Linked DNA regions of Homo sapiens: all the other regions are linked to region 2. The links are contacts of gene promoters, found by promoter capture Hi-C in blood cells and fetal thymus (Javierre and others, 2016). All regions are on one chromosome and are shown on one strand. The core of a region is centred on a gene start or on the middle of the fragment in contact, and the rest is flanking DNA. Distances in the headings are between cores, read along the strand shown. Region 1 overlaps COL1A1 (collagen type I alpha 1 chain). Region 2 holds the start of RSAD1 (radical S-adenosyl methionine domain containing 1). Region 3 has its middle 18 kb from the start of MIR8059.

Region 1 (2,500 bases), core at 1-2,500, 280 kb after region 2:
CAGTTGGGGTTTAGTCTAGCTCAGAAACAAAGGGATGGCGGTGATGACCTCCCAAGGCTCTTTCTCAGATCTAGGTGGATGTCAAGGCTGTTCCACCCCCTCCACAGGTTCTTACCTTCTACCTCTTTCCTGCTTTAGGGTTTCAGTGGTTTGGATGGTGCCAAGGGAGATGCTGGTCCTGCTGGTCCTAAGGTAAGAGGCTGTCTGAACATCATGGTCCTCCACATCCCCAGAGTCCCACCATGAATGAATTTCTCACTCATTATTCTCTGATCTACAGGGTGAGCCTGGCAGCCCTGGTGAAAATGGAGCTCCTGGTCAGATGGTGAGTGTGCCCAGTTCCAGAGGGCAGGGATGGGGCAGGAGGCAGGGGCAAGATGGAGGCCTGGGGGAACAAGGCTGTCTCCCATCTCATCTGACTTCTCTTGGTTTGGTTGTCAGGGCCCCCGTGGCCTGCCTGGTGAGAGAGGTCGCCCTGGAGCCCCTGGCCCTGCTGTAAGTACTCCTGGCCCCTTGGGGGATCCCTGAGCTCTGGAAGGGGCTCCCCAGGAACTCTAGGGACTGGCCAGTGCTCAGTGGACTTAACGGGGCTTCCCCTCTCTCCTGCAGGGTGCTCGTGGAAATGATGGTGCTACTGGTGCTGCCGGGCCCCCTGTGAGTGTGGCCTGTAGGCCTCAGGGCCTGGGAGTGGGGAGGGGTCTCAGTATCTGCTCTTGGGGCTGACAATGGGAGCAGGTTATGTTGGTCTGAACCCCAGGACTTCCTCTGTCCCAGGGTGTGACTTGCAGCTGCCATCTCTTCCTTCTCGCTGACATCTCCATTTCATTCACAGGGTCCCACCGGCCCCGCTGGTCCTCCTGGCTTCCCTGGTGCTGTTGGTGCTAAGGTGAGACCCCCCACTCTCCTCTAAGCATGACCCTCATGGGCCAAGGGGTTCATGTCTCCCTGTTCCCCAAACCAAAGGGACCCAGAGTGGCAAGAGAGCAGCCCGTTCACTAACACCTTTGTCCTGGGTTCTCCGTCTCTGATCTTAGAGTCCTGATCATTGCTCTCCTGTCCCTGTCTCCCCTTCCTCCTGCCATCCCGAGAGGCAAGGTTGGGTTTCCCAGGGTGGCTTCTGATATGTCCTTTCTTCTGATTCAGGGTGAAGCTGGTCCCCAAGGGCCCCGAGGCTCTGAAGGTCCCCAGGGTGTGCGTGGTGAGCCTGGCCCCCCTGGCCCTGCTGGTGCTGCTGGCCCTGCTGTAAGTGTCCCCGACTCAGTGTCCCCTTTGCCACTTTCTAACCTCAGAGTCCTTGCCTGTTGCTGACACTCCTTTCTCTGTGCCACAGGGAAACCCTGGTGCTGATGGACAGCCTGGTGCTAAAGGTGCCAATGTAAGTATCCTGCCAGGCTTCAGTCCCACTCCTGCCGCCTGCAGCCTGCCTGCCCCTTTCCCTCTGCTCCTAGGCTCACGCCCTGGCTGTCTGCCTCCCACAGGGTGCTCCTGGTATTGCTGGTGCTCCTGGCTTCCCTGGTGCCCGAGGCCCCTCTGGACCCCAGGGCCCCGGCGGCCCTCCTGGTCCCAAGGGTAACAGCGTGAGTACCAAACTCTCCCTTCTGCCCACCCCATGCACTGGCTCCAGTGCGGCTCTCATCTGGGGAGCAGGAAGACGCAGGCCAACTGAGCGCCCCCGACTCTCAGCTCATCCTCTTCTCCCCCCTTGCAGGGTGAACCTGGTGCTCCTGGCAGCAAAGGAGACACTGGTGCTAAGGGAGAGCCTGTAAGTCTCCCCGCCATCCTTCTTGCAGCCCAGCCCACCCTGCCCTAGGAGCCCCCTGAGGGAAATCCAGAAAGGAAGAGGAGCCCCTAGTCTTCTGGGGGAGTCCCTGCCACACCCCCAGGAACCCCTGACACTGGAGGCCCAGCCTCAGCCGGCTCTGAGGCTGGCACAGGATGGCCCCTCACCACAGGCCGCCTCCTCCTCTCGGCCCTCTCCAGGGCCCTGTTGGTGTTCAAGGACCCCCTGGCCCTGCTGGAGAGGAAGGAAAGCGAGGAGCTCGAGGTGAACCCGGACCCACTGGCCTGCCCGGACCCCCTGGCGAGCGTGTAAGTGTCCCTGCCCGCCCCCTCCCGCTCCACCCTCATTGCCTGGCTGGTGCCTGTGTGTCGCGGAGTTCACTGGCCTCCTCTCCTCCTGCAGGGTGGACCTGGTAGCCGTGGTTTCCCTGGCGCAGATGGTGTTGCTGGTCCCAAGGTAACCTCTCCTTGCGGCCGGGGGGCTGACCCTGCCGCTCCCTGGGCATCTTCTTCCTCTTTTGGCCCGTGGCAAAGAGCCACAAACTTGAGACCCTAACTGTTCCTGTGACTTCCCCCAACCAGGGTCCCGCTGGTGAACGTGGTTCTCCTGGCCCTGCTGGCCCCAAAGGATCTCCTGGTGAAGCTGGTCGTCCCGGTGAAGCTGGTCTGCCTGGTGCCAAGGTGAGGCCCCAGGCTTTCAGCCTGGCTTGGCCAGGCCCTG
Region 2 (4,367 bases), core at 1,783-4,282:
AATTTAATCTTTGTAACCCTCCAATATTAGTTCTATTTTACAGATGAGAAAACTGAGGTTCAGAGGTGTTAAGTAACTTGTCCAGGCCATACAGTTGCAAAGTTCGACCTGGAATTTAGGACTGTCTGACTCCAAAATCAAGTCTTTATTTACTTTACTTTTCAATTTTAAATAATTCTAACCTATAGAAAAGTTGAAAGAAAATCACAAAAAAAACCTTCATCTTGATTCACCATTTGTCCATATTTGTTTCTCTTTAAACATACATACCTGTTATTATGCTGAATCATTTAACAGTAAATTATAAACCAGCACTGTCCAAAAGAACTTTCTACAATGGTGGAAATGTTCATATCTGTACTGTCCAATATGATAGGTAGTAGCCACATGTGGTTATTTAAATTTAAGTGAATTAAACTTAACTTACCACATTTCAAATGCTCACTAGTCTGTGGCTAGTGGCCACTATATTGAATAGCAGTTATAGATATTATACTCCCTAACCTCTAAATACTTAGGTGTGTATTTCCTAAAGAACAAGGACATTCTCTTACATAACTGCAATCCAATTACAGAGTTCAGGAAATGCAACACTGACACAACACCATTACATAATACATTGTCATATTCAAATTTGGCTAATGGTCCCAATAACATCTACTGTAGTAATTTCCTCCTTCCTCCCCAGTCAGGGGCCACACATTGTATTCAGCTGTCTCTTCTGTCTCCTTTAGATTCTCAGCCTTTCTTTGTCTCTCATGACACTGGCATTTTTGAAGAATACAGGCCAGTTGTTTAAAATGAATAATTTAATGAATTTAAATAAATTATTATTATTTACGAATTATAATTATTTAAATGAATTATTTAAAATGAATAATTTCTACAGATTGGCTGTATAACACTGTGCTTATAGTTAACAGTGCTGTATGTACATTTAAAAACTTGTTAAGACGGTAGATCTCATGCTGTCTGTTCTTACCACAATAATTTTGTAAAAATCTCTTAATTCAGGGTTTCCTGACAATTAGATTCAAGATATGCGCTTTGGGGTAAGAATATCTTAGAAGTGATGTGTTTCTGTCAGCATATTCCATCAGAACAAAGCCCACAACCCGGAAGTCCTACGGAAATATCGGAGGTCAACCTGAGACGACTAGGTTTCTCCCTACTTAAAAACCTTCAATGGCTCCCTATCATTACTAGGACAAAACCCACACTCCTTAGTAGGCACCAAAGGTTTTGGACTCTACCTTGCAACCTTGTTTCCAGCCTCTCCAATCACAAGGAATGACTCACAACTCCCCCAAAACATGCCAGGCTCTTCCATGGCCTGTGTCGTTTCCCCCACACCCCCTCACCTGGTGAACTCTTCCTCTTCATTCAAACATCTCCTCCAGAGAAGTTTCAGTGATTTCATCAGAGTGACCTCCCTTCAGGCTGTACTCTAGAAGCCTTTTATAGAGACCCCCTTTACAGGTGACATTTACCATGCTGCAATAATCTGGCTACATGTCTGCGTCTCCCGTGTCATGTAGCAAATCTTTTTTGACCACCTACTATGTGCCAGGCACTATGGTAAGTGTTTGAAATAGAAAAGCCACACCTGATCCCTTTCTCATAAAGTCTGTGGTCTATGACAGCAGCAGACAATTAAGGAGTTATAAAAGTGTCGCACTAGGCCCTACTGTGTCCCTGGCACCCAGAAGGTGCTCAATCAATGTTTGCCCAATGAATGAATGTGACCAAAGAGGAGATGGCACTGAAGGGCGGGGTGCACTGGGATGGGGTGAGTGCCATGGGTTACCTGGAGGCCTATAGACAACCTGTTAACCCCTGCTGCCCCGAACTCTGCCAGTCTGGAGCCCGGAGCTGAAGTAGGATTAGCCTCCAATGTGACTTCCAAGTCTGCAGGCAGGTGGGCTGCCTGTGCCACAGCCTCCAGGACAGCAGCCACCGTGTGGGGACTGGCTAGACTGGGGGTCCCCCCACCAAAGAACACAGACTCCACCCTGGGGAAAGAGAATGGAGAAATGAGACCTGGGGGAGCCCTCTGGGATGCCTGCACCTATCCCCCACCACTCCTCCAAATATTTCCCAAAACGCTGCCTACAGCCCCCACTACCCACCGTTGCACCCCGCTGAGCCGCAGCAGCGTCTGAGCTTCGGTCACCAGACACTTCTGCATGGCAGCCTCCTCCAGGCGGCGAGGGATGTACTTGTTGAAGTTGCAGTAACTGCAGCGCTTCTCGCAGTAAGGCCACTGGGGGCAGTGAGTGCACGTGCGCGGTGAGAGCTGCCCTGGCCACTTCCAGGGTTCAGTCGCACACACCCCCAACCCCACCCCCACCCCTATCCCGAGGTCTTTCCACAGTAGCTAGGACATCTAAGCCACACAACTCCCCAAGGCAGGTCGCACTGGGGTTATTACATCCACTTCAATGTGAGAAAACTGAGGCTCACTCCTTTGTTACGCTGCCTCTTCCAACCAGCAGACGTCAGGAAGGAATTCAACCCAAGCTCTTTCTGGGATCATATAATTTTCATACAATTTTCCTATGAGCCATTTTCCCAGCTACCGAGTCAGAACACTGCTCTTAAGAAAATTTTGTCTTGCTAAGAGGAAAATTGTTATGAAATTTGAACCATTTGGTCAGAGTCACCGAGCCGGTGAGTAGCAGAGACTTCAGGTTTCTGGACCAAGTCATTTCCCTGCCAAAGCACAGGGTCCCATCCCAGACCTCGTACGGGGGCACGGAAACACGGCAGGCGGGTTCATAGAGTGACAAACCGCCACCTGGGTTTTGGACGGCCACGGTCACGGCCAGGGCTGCGGCCACACACCGTGGGCTCCGCCCCCGCCCCTACTCACGTGTACGTAAAGCGCCGCGCGCCGGCCCGCAGGCTCAGGACTCGGGGACCCTCCTGCGTTCTCCACGCGGCGGCGCCTCTGGGCCGCTCTGGCTGCTGCCGCCCAGCCGCGAGCCCGGGCTCCGGGGAGCGCCATGGCGCCCAGCGCAGCGCGGCGCACTGACCCGAGCAGGAGACGCGCGCAGGGATCACTGTGAGTGCGCAGCCGGCGGAAGGAAGAGGGGCTGCGTGACCGCGCGACAAGAGGGCCCGGGCCCGGGGCTGCGGCGCCACCTGCCGGGCGCCCGGGCGCTCACTGCGGCCTCCTGTCGGTTCTTTCCCCAGGCCGCGAGGCGGGCTGCTTGCCTTTTGGCACCTTGTGCCCGGGCGAGTTCCCGGACCCATCCAGGAGCTCTTAGTTTGTTCAGTCAATTCCTTGACATTTGATGTGCCTGGCTCAGAACTGGGCGCTGGGGACATCTAGGTGCATAAAGCCAGGTTGCATTCTGGCAGGAGAGAGGCAAGCCAACCGGCCAGGACAGGCAAGGCGTATTAATTCCGTGCCTGCTGGACACCAGAGCCGTCCGCCTCAGTGCTGTGAGGTCATCTGTTTTAAGAGTGTGGGAGTCAGTAGGGCAGAAGAGACACTTGGGCTGGATCTTTCTTTTAATTTCATTTACAAATATTTGGGAGAGGGGAGGTCTTGAACTCCTCGGCCTCAAGCGATCCTCCTGCCTCAGCATCTAGAGTAACTAAGGATTAAGGGCATGAGCCACCACCAGGGCTATGCACGGGATCTTGGAGGAGCAGAAAATCCCAGGGGCAATTGGCTTGGCCGGGAGAGTAGACTGTTTTGGGTCAGGCCAACCCAAGCATCTGGAGGTGTACGTGCTGGAAGGACAGTCAGATGGTGTGTGTAGGAGAGAGGGGGAAGGCGCAGGGGAAGGCCTGGGGAAGCAGGCACCTGAACAACTGTCCCACAAAGCAGAAACATCATGGGCTTCAGAGGCAGGCGGTGCAGGACAGTTCTCCCAGTGGCCTTGAACTGACCTGGTTCTCCCCTCCTTTCTTGCTTGTAGTTCTCAAGAATAACTGTAGACGCCTGTAATCCCAGCACTTTGGGAGGCCGAGGCGGGCAGATCACTTGAGATCAGAAGTTCAAGACCAGCCTAGCCAACATGCTGAAACCCCGTCTTTACCAAAAATACAAAAATTATCCAAGCGTGGTGGTGGGCACCTGTAATCCCAGCTACACGGGAGGCTGAGCAGGGAGAATCCCTCGAACCTGGGAGGCGGAGGTTGCAGTGAGCTGAGACAGTGCCACTGCACTCCAGCCTGGGTGATGGAGCAAGACTGTCTCAATAAATAAATAAATAAAACTGTAGAGTGTGCAGAGAATGCAACATCCTGAGGGAAGGAAGGACTGGCCAGCACAGCCATGCTCTGTTCCAGTCCCCCTAGAAAAAGCATGTCCTTCAACACTTCAGCCCAACATGTCACATGGCCCCAGGGTATAA
Region 3 (4,432 bases), core at 1,076-3,575, 310 kb before region 2:
GCCAAGATTGCACCACTGCACTCCAGCCTGCGTGACAGAGTGAGACTCCATTTCAAAAAAAAAAATAGTGTCAGTCATTCTTGACTCCTACCTCCCTTTCCTCCAATGCACTGGCGAATCCTATTTGGGCCCCCTTCAATGTACATCCTGAATCTGACCACCATGGCGACCACGAACTCTCACCTTGACGATGGCAATACCCTCCTAAGGGGACTCCCCACTTCCCTTCTTCCTCTTCTCCAACCCAGGTTCTGTCTGCACATGGAGTGGCCTATTGGAAATATCATTCAGATTGCCTCACCTCCCTGCCTGCGACCCACTAACAGTCCTCTCTCTTCTTTGCTCACTCTGTTCCAGCCACTGAAACTATCCCCACAGGGTTAACAAGAATCACATGTCAGGTTCTGGACAGAAATAGAGTTATAATTAAGCTTTAATTTGGCTGCTTTCTGACCCACTTCCTTGTTGCTGAGATTCACATAGCACTAGATATTGACCACTTGCCTCCCCATTGTCCCTACACATAGGATTTCTTTTTCTTTTTTTTTTTTCTTTGAGATGCAGTTTCACTCTTGTTGCCCAGGCTGGAGTGCAGTGGCGCGATCTCGGCTCACTGCAACCTCTGCCTCCGGGGTTCATGTGATTCTCCTACCTCAGCCTCCCGAGTAGATGGGAGAATCACTTGAACCCAACAGGCAGAGATTGCAGTGAGCCGAGGTCGCACCACTGCACTCCAGCCTGGACGACAGAGAGAGACTCTGTCTCGAAAAAAAAAAAAAAGAAAAAAAAACAAAACAAAACTTTAAAAGGGCAGGGCCTTCGTCTACTTTATGTGCAGCTGCCTCACAGTGTCTAGAACAGGGCCTGCACACTGCAGGTGCTCCACAAATGTTTGCTGAATGAAAATGGGATGGTGGCTGGTGGAGAGAGTTACTGATGGTGGCAGGTCGCTGTGCAGGAGGAGGCCTGGGATTTGGAGCTCAGATCAAGGGGCTGTAATCATGTGTGCAAGGGCCCCAGTGCTTTACTCCCTGTGTCTTTACCGTGTGCATCTACCATCCTGGTGCCCTCCCACTCAGACTCTGGGCTCAGCCACGTGCTTGCTGTGGCCAGCAGGATGTTAGCAGACCGGAGGCAGGCAGAAGAGGGCTTAGCATCTCCATCTGTTCTTGCCCTGAGCTCCACTATGAGAACATGCCCGGGCAGGCCTGCTGAAGGATGAGAGACCCATGGATATGTGAGGAAAGAACATTCCGGGCCAAGGGAACGGGCAGTGCAAAGGCCCTCCTTCCAGATAGGGGCTTGCCTGGTGTACTTGAGAAGGAGCACAGGGCCAGTGGGGCTACAGCCAAGTGAGAGAGGGGACCACGTTGCAGGAGCTCCTGGGATCCAGACTGTGGAGGGCTTTGTAGACCATTGCAAGACTTAGGCACTTACTCTAAGCAAAATGAGAAGCAGAGGCCTGGCAAGCTCTGACTTCCATGCTAAAAGGATCACTTTATTGCTGAGAAAGAAGAGATATGGGGGCGGTGCAGAAGCAGGGAGACCAGTGGGAATGGGAGGGGATATTGCAATAATCAGACTAGGGTGGCCGCAGCGGAGGTGGGGAGAAGAGGTTGGATCTGACTATGCTGTGAGGTCGGATCTCAGAGGATGGGGTGGGGGTCAGTGAGAGGAGGTGAGGGGTTCTGAGCTGAAGAACACCAAGGCTCAGCCTGGCCCTGCCTGATGGCCCCACCCAGAAATCCCCAGCTCCCTCTGCTCCCGCTGCATTGGCCCTTGTTTTCATCCCCCGAACACATTCCCCTCTCTCCTGCCTCAGAGGTCTCGGTACTTGCCACTGCCTCTTTCCCCTCGCTCTTGGCCTGGCTAAATCCATCATTTGGGTCACAGCTTAAATGTTCTTCCAGAGGCCTTCCCGGGACCCCCACCCACCCCACCCCTATGAATTGTCTTCTCTGCCATCCTCCCTCCTCCTACCCTGTTCTTTCCCTTTCCAGTGCTCCTTTTAATCACGTACGTAATCCTGTGGTTATTGGTTTAACGTCTGCTCCATTAGATCACCAGGGAGCAGGGCCCGACAGGCTGTGTGGGGTCAAGTCCCTGTTATTCCCATCTAGACCTGTGTGAACTGGGGAAAGCTAGTAAACCACTGGGCCTCAGTCTCTTCCTTGGAAAAATGGCAGTAAGGCCCAAGGCAATCCTCCAGGTAGAGCGCTGAGCTCAGTGCCTGGCCCACTGTTCAGTACATGTTAGCTACTATGGGGGCCATGGAAAGGAGGCCAATGTATTTATCTGGAAGCGCTCAGGCTGTTCAGATGACTTCACTGTATTTGGCAAGCTCTCCGAGTGGCATAAACAAACAGCACTCTGAGTAGACTGCTCAAATGAGGCAGGTTTGAAACTGCCTCTTGGCAAATGCACATTCAGGGAAATTAGAGAGATGTGTGCATTTGCTGATTTTAGTTGCTTGTCATCCAAATACCAATCGAGAGGGGAGGATACAAATCTCAAGATGGGCTGGAGGCAGTGTTCCCCCTATGGAAGCCTAAGGGGGCCAAAGATCCAATTCCTGCAGGGGGTGCTTGGGAACTCAGCCTTGGTTCATCCTGCCTAGGACTTTGACACTGACTGAGGGTTATTGAGAAGCTGGGACCATTGAGGTGTCACTCCTCTAATGTTGGGGTCCCAGCTGCCACCATCAAAGGGCAGTGATGGTTGTGAGGTTGGCATGATTGTCCTCATAAGACCCTCCCTGTGATTCTGCCTCCCAGCCTTCTGGGTTCCTGCCCAATTTGTCAGGCTGGTTCCAGTTTACCCTGTGACTCTATGAACCATCCATCATCATTCCAGAAAATTATTTTTGGGCTATAGTTAACCAGGGTTGTTTTCTATTGTTTACAACCAGGATCGTCTCCCCTCCCAGAAGGGGCTGAGTACCAACCCTCAGAAAACCTCATCCACCACCTTGGCTCTGCCCTACTCATTACTGGGAGCATAAACTTCCCTAGGGTGCTATGGGGCGGGCATGTGTCAGTCTGTACTAGGAGTACCCTGAAAACAGGGCAAAAGATGTGCCAAGCTAGATTAGGAAATGTTAACCAGGCTTCTTTCTCTAGCATGTCATACCGCCCCGCCCCAATGCAGGTGGCAGCAAGGATGTCCTTGGGGCAGGAATGTTTCAGAAGAAATGAAGAGAAGCCAGTGGAGCTAGGTCTTGGATACTAGCTTCAAAGTTGAGGTCCTTGCCTCAGTAAAAACACTGATCACACGATGGCTCTCTCCTCCCCACTCCAGCCCTGTTGTCTGGGCTGCAGTAGGGGCACTGCAGAGCTCAGGGAGTAGAGGGGCGCAGTGGTGAAGGCACTTCCTGGTGAAGGCACTGAGGTACCATCTCCCAGAACACCCTCATGTCTCTACACGTAAGGAGACATGCTGCTGTGGCTTGTCTGGGCAGAGAGGGCCTGAGACAAACCCCTCCCCACAGTTTCCCATTGAAGTGGCTGAGAGAGGGTTCTGGGACCACATGAAGCTCAGGATCAGGATGGTATAACAAGGAGGCCAGGTGGGCCGCGGGCCCTCATGGTGAATGCTGATGGGATGGACACGGGCAGTAATGAATCCAGTGAGAACGGAAATCAGCAAATGATGCCCGATAGGGCCAGAGACCATCTTTACAGATACCAGCAGAGAAAACGAGAACGACCAAGATCAGAGCCCTCTCCCTGCTGACACCATTAGCTGGGACCCCAGGGCAAAGGGGGAGGCAAAAACTTAGAATTGACTGAAGAGGCCAGGCGTGGTAGCTCACACCTGTAGTCCCAGCACTTTGGGAGGCCAAGGCGGGTGGATCACAAGGTCAAGAGTTGGAATCGAGCCTGGCCAACATGGTGAAACCATGTCTCTACTAAGAATACAAAAATTAGCCAGGTATGGTGACACATGCCTGTAATCCCAGCTACTCGGGAGGCTGAGGCAGGAGAATCACTTGATCCCAGGAGGCAGAGGTTGCAGTGAGCAGAGATCGCACCACTGCATTCCAGCCTGGGTGACAGAGCAAGACTCCGTCGCAGAAAAAAAAGAATTGACTGAGGAAACCCTGAATTCTGTAATAAAAATGTTTCCACATCGTGCAACATGGGAAATGGAGGTGGAAATCCAAGTCAATTATAGAAAATAGAAACATTCACACTTCTGACTTTGTAACCCATGAAGCTTGTGCCCCTACAAGGAGATCTCACCCCCATGTAACCTGGGTGCCAACCCATTACCTAAGAAAACAGACAGGCCTGGAGAGCTTTAGGGAGAGTTGTGGAGGGACGGACTTTGAACTCTTGTAAAGTGACTTGCTTTTATTAGGCACCTACTGTATACCAGGCACATTGCTGAACACTATATATTATTTATTTTTCTTTTTTCTTTTCTTTTCTTT

What was found. The method cuts DNA at HindIII sites, captures the fragments that hold promoters and counts their contacts. A CHiCAGO score of 5 or more calls a contact.
Region 1: a contact is called between a fragment that was not itself captured here and the fragment with the promoter of RSAD1 in region 2, in 2 of 17 cell types (M0 macrophages and megakaryocytes). The highest score is 7.6, in M0 macrophages.
Region 3: a fragment that was not itself captured here is called in contact with the fragment with the promoter of RSAD1 in region 2 in 1 of 17 cell types (erythroblasts); the score reaches 5.8 in erythroblasts.

The regions. Positions count from the first base shown.
Region 1 is chr17:50,194,309-50,196,808 of GRCh38, reverse strand. COL1A1 (collagen type I alpha 1 chain) reads left to right here. Exons shown (of 51, transcript NM_000088.4): 12 at 139-192; 13 at 281-325; 14 at 442-495; 15 at 610-654; 16 at 833-886; 17 at 1,144-1,242; 18 at 1,331-1,375; 19 at 1,479-1,577; 20 at 1,709-1,762; 21 at 1,981-2,088; 22 at 2,183-2,236; 23 at 2,362-2,460. Among named protein-coding and RNA genes, the nearest start is that of COL1A1, 6.1 kb to the left of the region's middle. RefSeq lists an enhancer at 1-468. The HindIII fragment of the contact is 9,239 bases long and covers 1-2,500 here.
Region 2 is chr17:50,477,525-50,481,891 of GRCh38, reverse strand. It overlaps RSAD1 (radical S-adenosyl methionine domain containing 1), which reads right to left and starts at 3,032. Exons shown (of 9, transcript NM_018346.3): 1 at 2,873-3,032; 2 at 2,130-2,263; 3 at 1,808-2,012. The coding sequence starts at 3,007. RefSeq lists silencers at 1,819-2,205, 2,777-3,266. The HindIII fragment of the contact is 15,448 bases long and covers 1-4,367 here.
Region 3 is chr17:50,784,015-50,788,446 of GRCh38, reverse strand. No RefSeq gene overlaps it. Among named protein-coding and RNA genes, the nearest start is that of MIR8059, 18 kb to the right of the region's middle. The HindIII fragment of the contact is 3,784 bases long and covers 434-4,217 here.